Regions from separate parts of the Homo sapiens genome. Here all the other regions are linked to region 3. The links are contacts of gene promoters, found by promoter capture Hi-C in human tissues and cell types (Jung and others, 2019). All regions are on one chromosome and are shown on one strand. The core of a region is centred on a gene start or on the middle of the fragment in contact, and the rest is flanking DNA. Distances in the headings are between cores, read along the strand shown.

The links. Contacts are between HindIII fragments. The study calls those that stand out against the background at their distance.
Region 1: a fragment that was not itself captured here is called in contact with the fragment with the promoter of GINS4 in region 3 in 1 of the 25 tissues and cell types used here (mesenchymal stem cells).
Region 2: a fragment that was not itself captured here is called in contact with the fragment with the promoter of GINS4 in region 3 in 1 of the 25 tissues and cell types used here (H1 embryonic stem cells).

Annotation. Positions count from the first base shown.
Region 1 is chr8:41,222,256-41,225,730 of GRCh38, reverse strand. No RefSeq gene overlaps it. Among named protein-coding and RNA genes, the nearest start is that of MIR548AO, 47 kb to the left of the region's middle. The HindIII fragment of the contact is 4,202 bases long and covers 1-3,475 here.
Region 2 is chr8:41,257,487-41,261,012 of GRCh38, reverse strand. No RefSeq gene overlaps it. Among named protein-coding and RNA genes, the nearest start is that of MIR548AO, 12 kb to the left of the region's middle. RefSeq lists an enhancer at 2,017-2,076. The HindIII fragment of the contact is 5,420 bases long and covers 1-3,526 here.
Region 3 is chr8:41,527,663-41,531,115 of GRCh38, reverse strand. GINS4 (GINS complex subunit 4) reads right to left here and starts at 1,855. Exons shown (of 8, transcript NM_032336.3): 1 at 1,720-1,855; 2 at 818-932. The coding sequence starts at 913. RefSeq lists a silencer at 1,880-2,309. The HindIII fragment of the contact is 17,762 bases long and covers 1-3,453 here.

The sequences.
Region 1 (3,475 bases), core at 536-3,035, 310 kb after region 3:
GTCTGTTGGCCCCTACTGGGAGGTGTCTCCCAGTTAGGCTACACGGAGGTCAGGGACCCACTTGAGGAGGCAGTCTGTCTGTTCTCAGAGCTCAAGCGCTGTGCTGGGGGAACCACTGCTCTCTTCAGAGCTGTCAGACAGGGACGTTTAAGTCTGAAGAAGTTGTCTGCTGCCTTTTGTTCAGCTATGCCCTGCCCACAGAGGTGAAGTCTAGAGGCAGTGGGCCTTGTTGAGCTGCAGTGGGCTCTGCCTAGTTTGAGCTTCAGAGCCACTTTGTTTACCTACTCAAGCCTCAGCAATGACAGATGCCCCTCCCCCAGCCAGGCATAGGAGATGGATCTCAGACTGCTACGCTAGCAGTGAGCAAGGCTCCATGAGCATGGGACCTGCCGAGCCAGGCACGGGAGAGAATTGCCTTGTCTGCCCATTGCTAAGACCTTGGGAAAAGCACAGTATTTGGGCAGGAGTGCCCCGTTTTTCCAGGTAGTCTGTCATGGCTTCCATCGGCTATGAAAGGGAAATCCCCTGACCCCTTGTGCTTCCCAGGTGAGGTGATTCCCCGCCCTGCTTCAGCTTGCCCTCCGTGGGCTGCACCCACTGTCCAAACAGTCCCAGTGAGATGAACCAGGTACGTCAGTTGGAAATGCAGAAATCACCCATCTTCTGCATCGATCACGCTGGGAGCTGCAGACTGGAGCTGTTCCTATTTGGCCATCTTGGAAGCCCAGAGTTTCTTTCCTTTAAGTTTTCATTCCTCTCTCACCCTGGGAAGAGACCATTTCTAGGCATCTCAGGGGACATGACGTCTAGCTGGGGATCTCCCAATACCTGCAGGTCACAGGGCCACAGAGGCTGGGTCTCCAGGAGCAGAGGACATAGACCAGGGAAGATGAGCTCTTCAAACTTCTAAGTGTATTTATACCTCCAATTTTTCTACAACAGTATAAATTACTTTTAATGGAGAAGTATTTACTTGTATAATCAAAGAACTAAACTTTTTCTTTTCTTTTTTTTTTTTTGAGAAGGAGTCTTGCCCTGTCCCCCAGGCTGGAGTGCAGTAGGGCAATCTTGGCTCAGTTCAACCTCTGCCTCCCAGGTTCAAGTAATTCTCCTGCCTCAGCCTCCTAAGTAGCTGGGATTATGGGCGCCTGCCACCATGCCTGGCTAATTTTTGTATTTTCAGTAGAGATGCGGTTTCACCATGTTGGCCAGGTTGGTCTTGAACTCCTGACCTCAAGTGATCCACCTACCTCAGCCTCCCCAAAGTGCTGGGATTACAGGCAGAAGCCATTGTGCCTGGCCTTTGTGTGTGTGTGTGTGTGTGTGTGTGTGTGTGTTTGTGTGTGTCAGATTTGAAAACACAAGCCTGACTAGGAGCTCCTTGAAAGACCCTTGCTTGGTGGGGGCAGCAGCATTTTTCTCCCCTGGTGAGCATGGCTGGGTGCAACTATATGCATCGTTAACATCTTCAATCATCTAGCCAGAGGGAGTTCCCTGGGGATGTGTCTCATCCACCCTAGACCTGGAAGCTCCACATGCTGGCAGTCCTGAGCAGAAAGCTGCAGCTTCCCTGTACTTGGGTCGTTTCTTCCTCCAAGACAGGCATTGGCCGTAGACTGGAACAGAACATATGTGTGGATTTGTGTAAGCCTGTTCCCACCAGGAGCTAACTAGCTCACAATGCATGCCTCCCTGTGGTTGGTCAGGAATGGGAACCACGTCTTTCACACAAGGAGAGAAAGACTAGCCCCATGACATCGTAGGCTTGTAACATACCCGACTTTGCCCGACTGCATGCTTTTTCGAGTTCGCCTGTCTCTTGTGCCAGCCTCAGAGGTGGCGACCAGCTCTGCACAGACTCCCACTGACTCCAGCAGTCAGCCTGGCCGTGCCCCGCCTCAGGCTCACTTGGGCTCCTCTTATCTTCTGCCCTGGGGCTTCCTGGGGACCCTACTCAGCGCTCATACCCAGGCATCCTCCTGCCCCAGACTCACAGTCATTAGTCACACCTTAAGAAGCTTCTAGGCGGACAGTCTGACCAGGTCAAGAAGATGCATTTAGTGATAACCAGCTTGGGGCGGATCCCACCCTCCCTTCCTCCCTCTTGGCTCTCTGGAGAATCCAGGCTAAGGATATGCATTGTTGGAGAAATTACTTAACTTTTCCTAATTTCATCATCTTGAAAATAGGGAGGATATAACTTGATATAACTTGTAGGGTGGTTGGATGAGTCAATGAGTCAATAGATTCAAGATGGTGGAACAGTGCTTGGTCTGTGGTAGATGTTCAGTAAGTGTGAGCCTCGCTCTGTCACCCAGGCTGGAGTGCAGTGGTACAGTCATAGCTCACTGCAACCTTCTACTCCTGGGCTCTAGTGATCCTCTCGCCTTGGTCTCCCAAAGTGTTGGGATTATAGGCATGCACCATCATGCCCGGCCTTCCCTTATCTTTACAACAACTTTACATGATTGACATGGCCTATTGTTCCCTGTTTATTATCCAAGAAACGGTCCTGAGGGAAATTAAACAATTCCTTAAAATCACGGAGGCAGTCCCAGGTAGGCCCACGATGACACCCAGAGCCCTGTGGTATGAATGCCGGCACCACCCTATTTCTTGCACTCAAACCTAATCCAAGACCCTGCTCCTGCCTCCTGGCTCTGCTGCTTGTCAATGACTTTGGGGAACAATTTCAGCATTTTAGCTTCAGGTTTTTATTTGTAAAATGAGAAAAATATCTGACTTATTTCCCATGGTTGTCATTCTCTAGGTCAAGTTAAGTTAAAAATATTAACAAGAAAGTATTTGTAAATTGTTAGTCATAAACTTGAAGCTTAAAGGCTGCTTTGATGGAGAGACCTTAGAATGTCACTAGTTGAACATAATGAGGGGCTATTTCTCATTCATATCAAGTCCTGGTCTGCGCTCACTCTGTATGGGTGTTTGGGGACACAGGCTGAAGGATGGGGGCTCTGGGCATGTGGTTTCCAAGGTTGCTGTGGATTCCAACATCCTGCCAGGATATAGAAGAGAGTTTGGAAAAGATGCATCTGTTTTTTGTCCCTTTTGGTCTGGAAGTGCTCCAATTACTCCTGCTCATCATTCCATTGCTGAGAACAAATCACAGGGGGGTCTGGGAAGTGTAGTCTCTGGCTGGGCAGCAGCTAGTCCACAGAGGGGAAGGGGCACGCAGACCTCAGTGGACATCCGCATCTTTGCCAAGGACACCCTATGCCTCAGCGTTCTTCTTTTACAAGATGCAAACTAAGCCAAGAATGGTGACACTGTAGACTCAGAATTACAAACTTAATTAACAACAGAGTAAAATCAGGCATGGAAGTCTCTTGCTTCATGCCGATGCCCCCATTGTTATCATCATCTTTGTCATTATTCCCAGGAGGTGAGCCATGGGATAAACTCTTTTTTGTTCACTTCCCACTATAGAGTCCTGACCAGCTGAGGCTGGGGTGACTGT
Region 2 (3,526 bases), core at 81-2,580, 270 kb after region 3:
TAAAATAGTGAGATACTAGTCCAGCCAAGGAAAATGTCCATATTTCCTTTTAGCTCCCTGTGGTTAATAAGAAAGAAAATTTATTTAGGCTGGGTGGAGATGTCATTGCCACCCCCTACTGAAGCTCACCACCATGACCCACCATTTCCATTTTTTTTAAGTCTGCAAAAGGATGATGAAGTGTGTGCAAAGGTATCTCAGTTCCAGCTGCTGGAGTCACCGTGGTGGAGTTTGGGGTGCCCAAGGGTCAGGACTGCTTGACGCTTGTGCCTCAGAGATGCTGGCAGCACTTGGAACCACAGGCTTGTCCTCAAGCTGCATGGCACCTGCACCTCCTTAATGAAAAATTTCGGCACTTCCCTAGGCAGGAGGTATAAAAGACCAAGGGACACAGAGGTAGGCTGGTCTTAACTTCAAAGGCTGTCTCCCCTCCTTGGGTCCAGAAGTGCTAGCAATTCACTTTTGCTCCTGAGGGTGGGACATGGTACTAATCATCCAATAGCAATTGAAGGGCAGAGGGAGAATCGTTCTTAAATTTCAGCCTATGTGAGTATCACCAAGGGGAGCTTACTAATATGTGGGTCTTGGCTCCCACCCCCAGACATTCTGATTGGGAAAGTTTGGGAAGGTTGGCAAAGGGGCTCTAGAACCAAGGTGCTAGGTTTCTCTGATGCCAGCAGTTCACGGGATCTTACTTTGCAAAACATTCTCATAGGACCTGCGTGGCCCGGGGATGAGAGGCAGGAAGTTATTTTGTCATCTCCCTCTCCCCACATCCACACTTCATATTGCCGCAGTCCCTTCTGAAGCTCTGTGAGTTCATCTTACCCGGCATCAGCTAATAGAGGCAAGTTAAATGCAAGGGGGAACGAGCCCTCTTTCCTTAAGACTGAGTACATTTGGCTGTCCAAGGAGTGTTTCTCACATTTTAATATGTATATGACTCACTTGAGGACCAGTGTTAAAATGCCGATTCTGAAGGGTAGGTCTGAGGTGGGCTTGAATTCTGCATTTCTTTTCTTTTTTTTCCTCATATTTTTCCAGTTTTATTTGTATAAAGACATACATGGCCTATCCAATGGAGCTTTGTCAAATAATCCATAAGTACCTAAAGCACACATGACTCGTAATGCTTTTAATATCAAAAGAGGTTATTTTTCTTAATCCAAAGATTATATAATTTTTTTTGCAAACTACTAGTGGGCCATATTAACATTTGAATAATCTTTTAAAAATTTAAATATAAATTTTGGATTTGGGGGCACATGTGCAGCTTTGTTACAAGGGTATATTGTATGATGCTGAGGTTTGGGCTTCTATTGACTCTATTACTCAGATAGTGAACATAGTACCCAATAGGAAATTTCCCAATTCTTGCCCCCACCCCTTCCTCCTTTTGGAGTCCCCAGAATTGATTCTGTCTATCTTGATGTCCATGTGGACCCATTGTTTAGCTCCCACTTATTAGTAAGAACATGTGGCATTTGGATGTGACTGCAAAGCACAGGATTTTGTTATTTTTTATGGCTGCGTAGTATTCCATAGTGTATGTGTACCACGTTTCCTTGGGTACCCGGGTGAGGCTGAAGCTGTGAAGCTGTCAGTGTGCAGAATGTACTTTGGGTAGGGAAGCTCTAACAGGCTGATGGTTTCAGGTGCGTCCTCACCCCCTGTTACAGTATCACCATCTCTATGATCAGCACAGCCCATCTCCTAAGGACTCAAAATATTGACCACGCTTTGGAATGGGAAGAAAATCAAACCAGAGAGTCATGCTTATAAACCCAAAGCTGGGGCTGATCTTCTCAACCCACTCATTAGATTTCATTCTTGTCCTAGACCTTAGGGTTAATTCTTTTCCCTCAGACCCTGCTCATTATGGAAACTCACAGGTTCCTTCCTATTTTTCCCATCTATTAACATTATGGACTGTGCCCTTTACCAAACTTCCCAGTCCTCAGCCCCCATCCCCAGACCCACCAGGGGTTGATGGTGTTAACCAACTGGTGGTATGTACCTGGACAACTAAAGTTACATAGGAATCTGACAACAAAATTGGGACTTTCCCTGTTCCATTTGCTCATGTCTGGGCAGTTTCAACCTCAGGTTATGGGAGGAGCCAAGAAAGAGAGGGGAAATTGAAGTCTTTGGAGGGAAAATCCCACCCCTGATACATTGAGGACAGCCTGTCCCCTGAGCTGACTTACTAGGGGAGCAGGCAGTAGGGATTGCTGTCAGCAAGGTCTAAGGGAGGCCACTTGTTGTAGGTTTGGAGAAGATGGGCACCAGAACAAGCTCCGAATAGGAGCAGAAAGCGCCTGCATCTTCATGCATCTGCAGACTATTTAGATAAGAAGGGGCTGTACCCAATCATGGAGAGTTGTTTGCTTAAATAAAGGAAGGGAAAGCTGCATGTGTGTGTGCTTAAGGGGAGAAGGAGGGGGTGGGAAGAAGGAGAAAGGGGCCAGGAATTTTCCACAGCTGAAACCCACCACGTGGTTATCATTAGGATGACCTTCCTATCACCTGAGCAAAAGGACTGGTGGATGGGGGCTGGTGAGGAAGGATTTGGGATCCGATCCCTCGGATTTCAGCTAAGTTCTGATGTGGCAGTTGCAAGCACTAAGGAGAAGTTCTTATTTCCCGCTTCCCTGGAGTGCCTGAGTCCACAGTCCTAAAGCTGTGTACCCTCAGGAAGCCTGCCCATTGGCTGGCCAGGTAGGATCCAGGGATCCAGCTTCTCTGAGATCCCCGGGTGTCAGGGCTTAAATATAAATAAAGCAATCAGAACCCACAGTTTGTTGGCATGGATGCAGTGAAAAGGGAATGCTTATACACTGTTGATGGGAATGAAAGTTAGTATAACCTCTACGGAAAACAATATGGAGATTTCTCAAATAACTAAGAATAGAGCTACCATTCGATCTATCAGTCGTACTGCTGGGTATCTACCTAAAGGAAAAAAGTCATTATATCAAAAAACACCTACACCTGTATGTTTATTACAGCACAATTCACAGTTGCAAAGATGTGGAATCAACCTAAGTACCCATCATCCAATGAGTGAATATAGGAAATGTGGTATACATACACCATGGAATACTACTCAGCCATAAAAAATGAAATAATGTATTTTGCAGCAACTTGCGTGGAGCTAGAGGCCACTATCCTAAGTGAAGTAACTCAGGACTGGAAAACCAAATACTGGCATATTCTCACTTATAAGTGGAAGCTATGCTGTGGGTACACAGGTCCACCAGAGTGGTATAATGGACACTGGAGACTCAGAAGATCAGAGGGTGGGAGTGGGGTGAGGAATGAGAAATTACCTATTGGGTACAGTGTACACTGTTTGGGTGATGGTTACACTAAAAGCCCAGACTTCACTATATAATTCATCCATGTAACCAAAAACAATCTGTACCCCCTAAATCTATTGAAATGGAAAAAAAAAAAACCCAGAACTGCACAATAAATTTCCTTCCAAGGAAGGGAATTAGAAAGAAAACAGGAGATTCTGCTAAAA
Region 3 (3,453 bases), core at 606-3,105:
TTTTTAGTAGAGACGGGATTTTACCATGTTGGTAAGGCTGGTCTCGAACTCCTGGACCTCAGGTGATCCGCCCACCTCAGCCTCCCAAAGTGCTGGCATTACAGGCTTGAGCCACCGTGCCCGGCCCTATTGTCTCAATTTTATAGGCAAGCAACGGCTTGAGACAAACTCCCTAACTTGCTCAAGATCACATAACAGAGGAGTGTCACAGACAGATTTAAATCCAGATAGTCTGAACTCCTGTTACCAGAGCATCATGAGATATAAGTGTAAAGAACACAGTTACTGGCACATGGGAAATATGCAGTAAGTCATAGCTATTACAACTTAAAGGAGAAATATTTCAGAAAGGATTTTAGATAAGCAGTGGACATATGGAGAGCAGACGACTCAAGAAAAAACATGTGAGAAAAAGGAAAAATATGACCAGTTTTCCCTTACAGGCATTTCAGCATTTTCTTGCTAAACAGGCATTCTCCAGGGAAACAGCAGATGTTCAAGGGACTAAGGTAAAGAAGTTCAGGGACCTCTACAGTCCCTGAAAATATCACGTGGATCCTTGCTCTGTGAACTGTTCACTGAATGTGCCCAAAGCTGTCCCTTACTGACCCCACTTGGGGATGCTGTGTTTGATATGATGAGGTCTCTAACAGAGGATGTCCTTCTTGCTTCCCGTTTCCATGTAGATGGTAAGATCCAGTCCCTGTTCTAAAGTAAGCCCCAAATTCCGTTTCCTCATCTTGTGATCCCTGATATTCACAGTTGAACTAAATAAAAAGGCTGACTGGAGCAAAGGGATTCGATCTGGGATGCTTACCTGCTCCAATCTTTCAATGAGCTCTGCAGGAGTTAGGACCACTTCCTCACTACCCCCATCAGAGTCCTGTCCCAGGAAATCCACTTCTTCGGTCATCTTCTCTGAAACCAGGAACCTAATGAGAGGGAAAGAACCAATACTCTGCAATGCGTTTTCTAATTATCTGCAAGAACAGACATCTATCTGGAGAAAGGAAAGGTTTATTGAGGTTTCCTGGGGTTGTAGAGGCCCTTTAGCAAGTGGTGAGAGAACGCAGGGACTCTAGTTTTCCAGTGTCTGCCTCTTCCTCCAAGGCTTAGGTCAGGTATCCGTTTCTCAAACAAGCCTCCCCCTTACTTCTGTCCACCAAGAGCTGAGCACCCATCACACCATACAATCACTATTCATTTCTTTGACTTCCCAGTAGAGGTCTTGTTCCTCAGGGACGGGGTTCGTTTTAGTTCAAATACGAATCGCGCCTCTGCTCAGTGCCTGGCACTAAGCACTGGGGACGCAATGACGTGGGAAGCCCCTGCGCTCAGCACAGCGCTTGACTCCTAGCAAGCACTTAACATTATTAGGAGCTGGCCGGGCTCACGCCTGTAATCCCAGCACTTTGGGAAGCCGAGGCAGGAAGATACCTTGAGCCCAGGAGTTCGAGACCAGCCTGGGCAACATAGGGAGATCCTGTCTCTATAAAAACAAAAATTGTTAGGAAGATTAATCAATGCTAATTTCCCAGAGCCACAAGGGCCGGCGACATTAGACCAGTCGGCGATCCCAAAGGCCTAAGGAGGTGGATGGCGGGGACAAAGAAAGTCCCTGGGGTCGCAAGGAAACTGCGAACATCCCCCTCCCCTCCTCCCTCTCAGTGCCACCCACACAGGCCTGCCCTAGCCACAGAGGTCCCATTCGACGCTCACTCGGGGACCTGGGAGACAGCGAGGCACTCCACAGCAGCCGGCGGTAAGGACGGGGCGTTCGTGGGGACGCAGTCGGGGCACCAGGAAGCGGGAAGACAGAGGAACAAACTGCTCAAGGACTTGCCGGGACCAACTCAACCCTGCAACTTCTCAGCTCCCGCGCTACTCTCGCAAAGTTTCCGCCCAGGCACGACGTCATCGCGCAAGGGCGACGCTGACCAATCAAGGCCCGGGGGGAAGAGCGGGGCGGTCTCCTTGGGCCCGCCCACCCGGCGGGCGGGGACTGTCTTCGCGGCGGCCTGCAGTCCCAGCAACCCAAGGACTTGAGGCGGCGGGAGGCTGGTCCGGGTTGGCCCCGCCCACCTGGGGGCCGGCCGCTCCGCTGTGCGGTCCGGGTTGCACTACCCAAGAGCGTCGGGAGGGGGCGCCCGCCACCGCGGCCAAGGGGAGCGGCGGTGTCCGCCCCGGGGGGTCCCACCCAGAAGTATGCTGTTGAAAGCAGGCCGCTGCAGCCTCCTGGGCCGTCTCCACCCACAGCTCTCGTGGCTCTTTGGGTTCCTCCGTCTTTGCGGGGTTTCACCTGTGGTCAGTGTGGTCATTGCCTTCAGAATCTCCAGTATATTCCTTTTCATCTTTCTTGAGACAGGGTCTCGTTCTGGTGCCCAGGCTGGAGTGCAGTGGCACCACCACAGCTCACTGCAACCTCCGCCTCCCGGGCTCCAGCGATCCTCCCACCTCAGCCTCCGGAGTAGCTGGGACCACAGGCCAGCGCCACCACGCCCAGTTATTTTTTAATTAAAAAAAAAAAAAAAAAGAACTGTGGCGGGGTTGGGGGTGGGGAGGTTCTCCCTATGATGGCCAGGCTGGTCTCGAACTCAAGGATCCAAGCAATCCTCCCACCTCGGCCTCACAAAGTGGGTACTGGTTCTTGAAGCCTGGGATCGGACGACCAGCAGAAGCATCGCCTGGGAATCCGTGAAAATGCAGGTTCTCAGGCCCCACCCTGGCCCACCGAATCAGAAACTGGGGGTATTTCACCAGACCCAGGCCCTCCCGGTGACCCTGACACAGCTGAGGTTTGAGAATCACTGCTTTGGGGCCGGGCGCGGTGGCTCACGCCTGTAATCCCAGCACTTTGGGAGGCCGAGGTGGGCGGATCACGAGGTCAGGAGATCGAGACCATCCTGGCTAACATGGTGAAACCCCGTCTCTACTAAAAATACAAAAAAATTAGCCGGGCGTGGTGGCGGGCGCCTGTAGTCCCAGCTACTCGGGAGGCTGAGGCGGGAGAATGGCGTGAACCCGGGAGGCGGAGCCTGCAGTGAGCCAAGATGGCGTCACTGCACTCCAGCCTGGGAGACAGAGCCAGACTCCATCTCAAAAAAAAGAAAAAAAAAGAAAAAAGAAAAGAGAATCACTGCTTTGGGGCAATGCTTTCAACTCACCTTCTGGAGGGGAAAAGCACAAAAACCCATGTCTGTATATGTATATATTTTTTCCATCTTTGTGTGATCCAGTTTTTCTTCTCTGAGTTGCTGATTCTTTTCTCTTTGCTGTCCTTTGTTTTCTGTGCAAAGCGTTGCTTCTGGCTTCCCTAAAAGTATCTCTTCTCCATCAATCTGAGGGCTCTTTGCAAAGCTGCCCTATGATGTCATATTGATTGACTAGTAAAATGATTGGCTAATATAGTATGATCGTACCTGCCTGATTACAATCCTGTTATGAAAATGACAA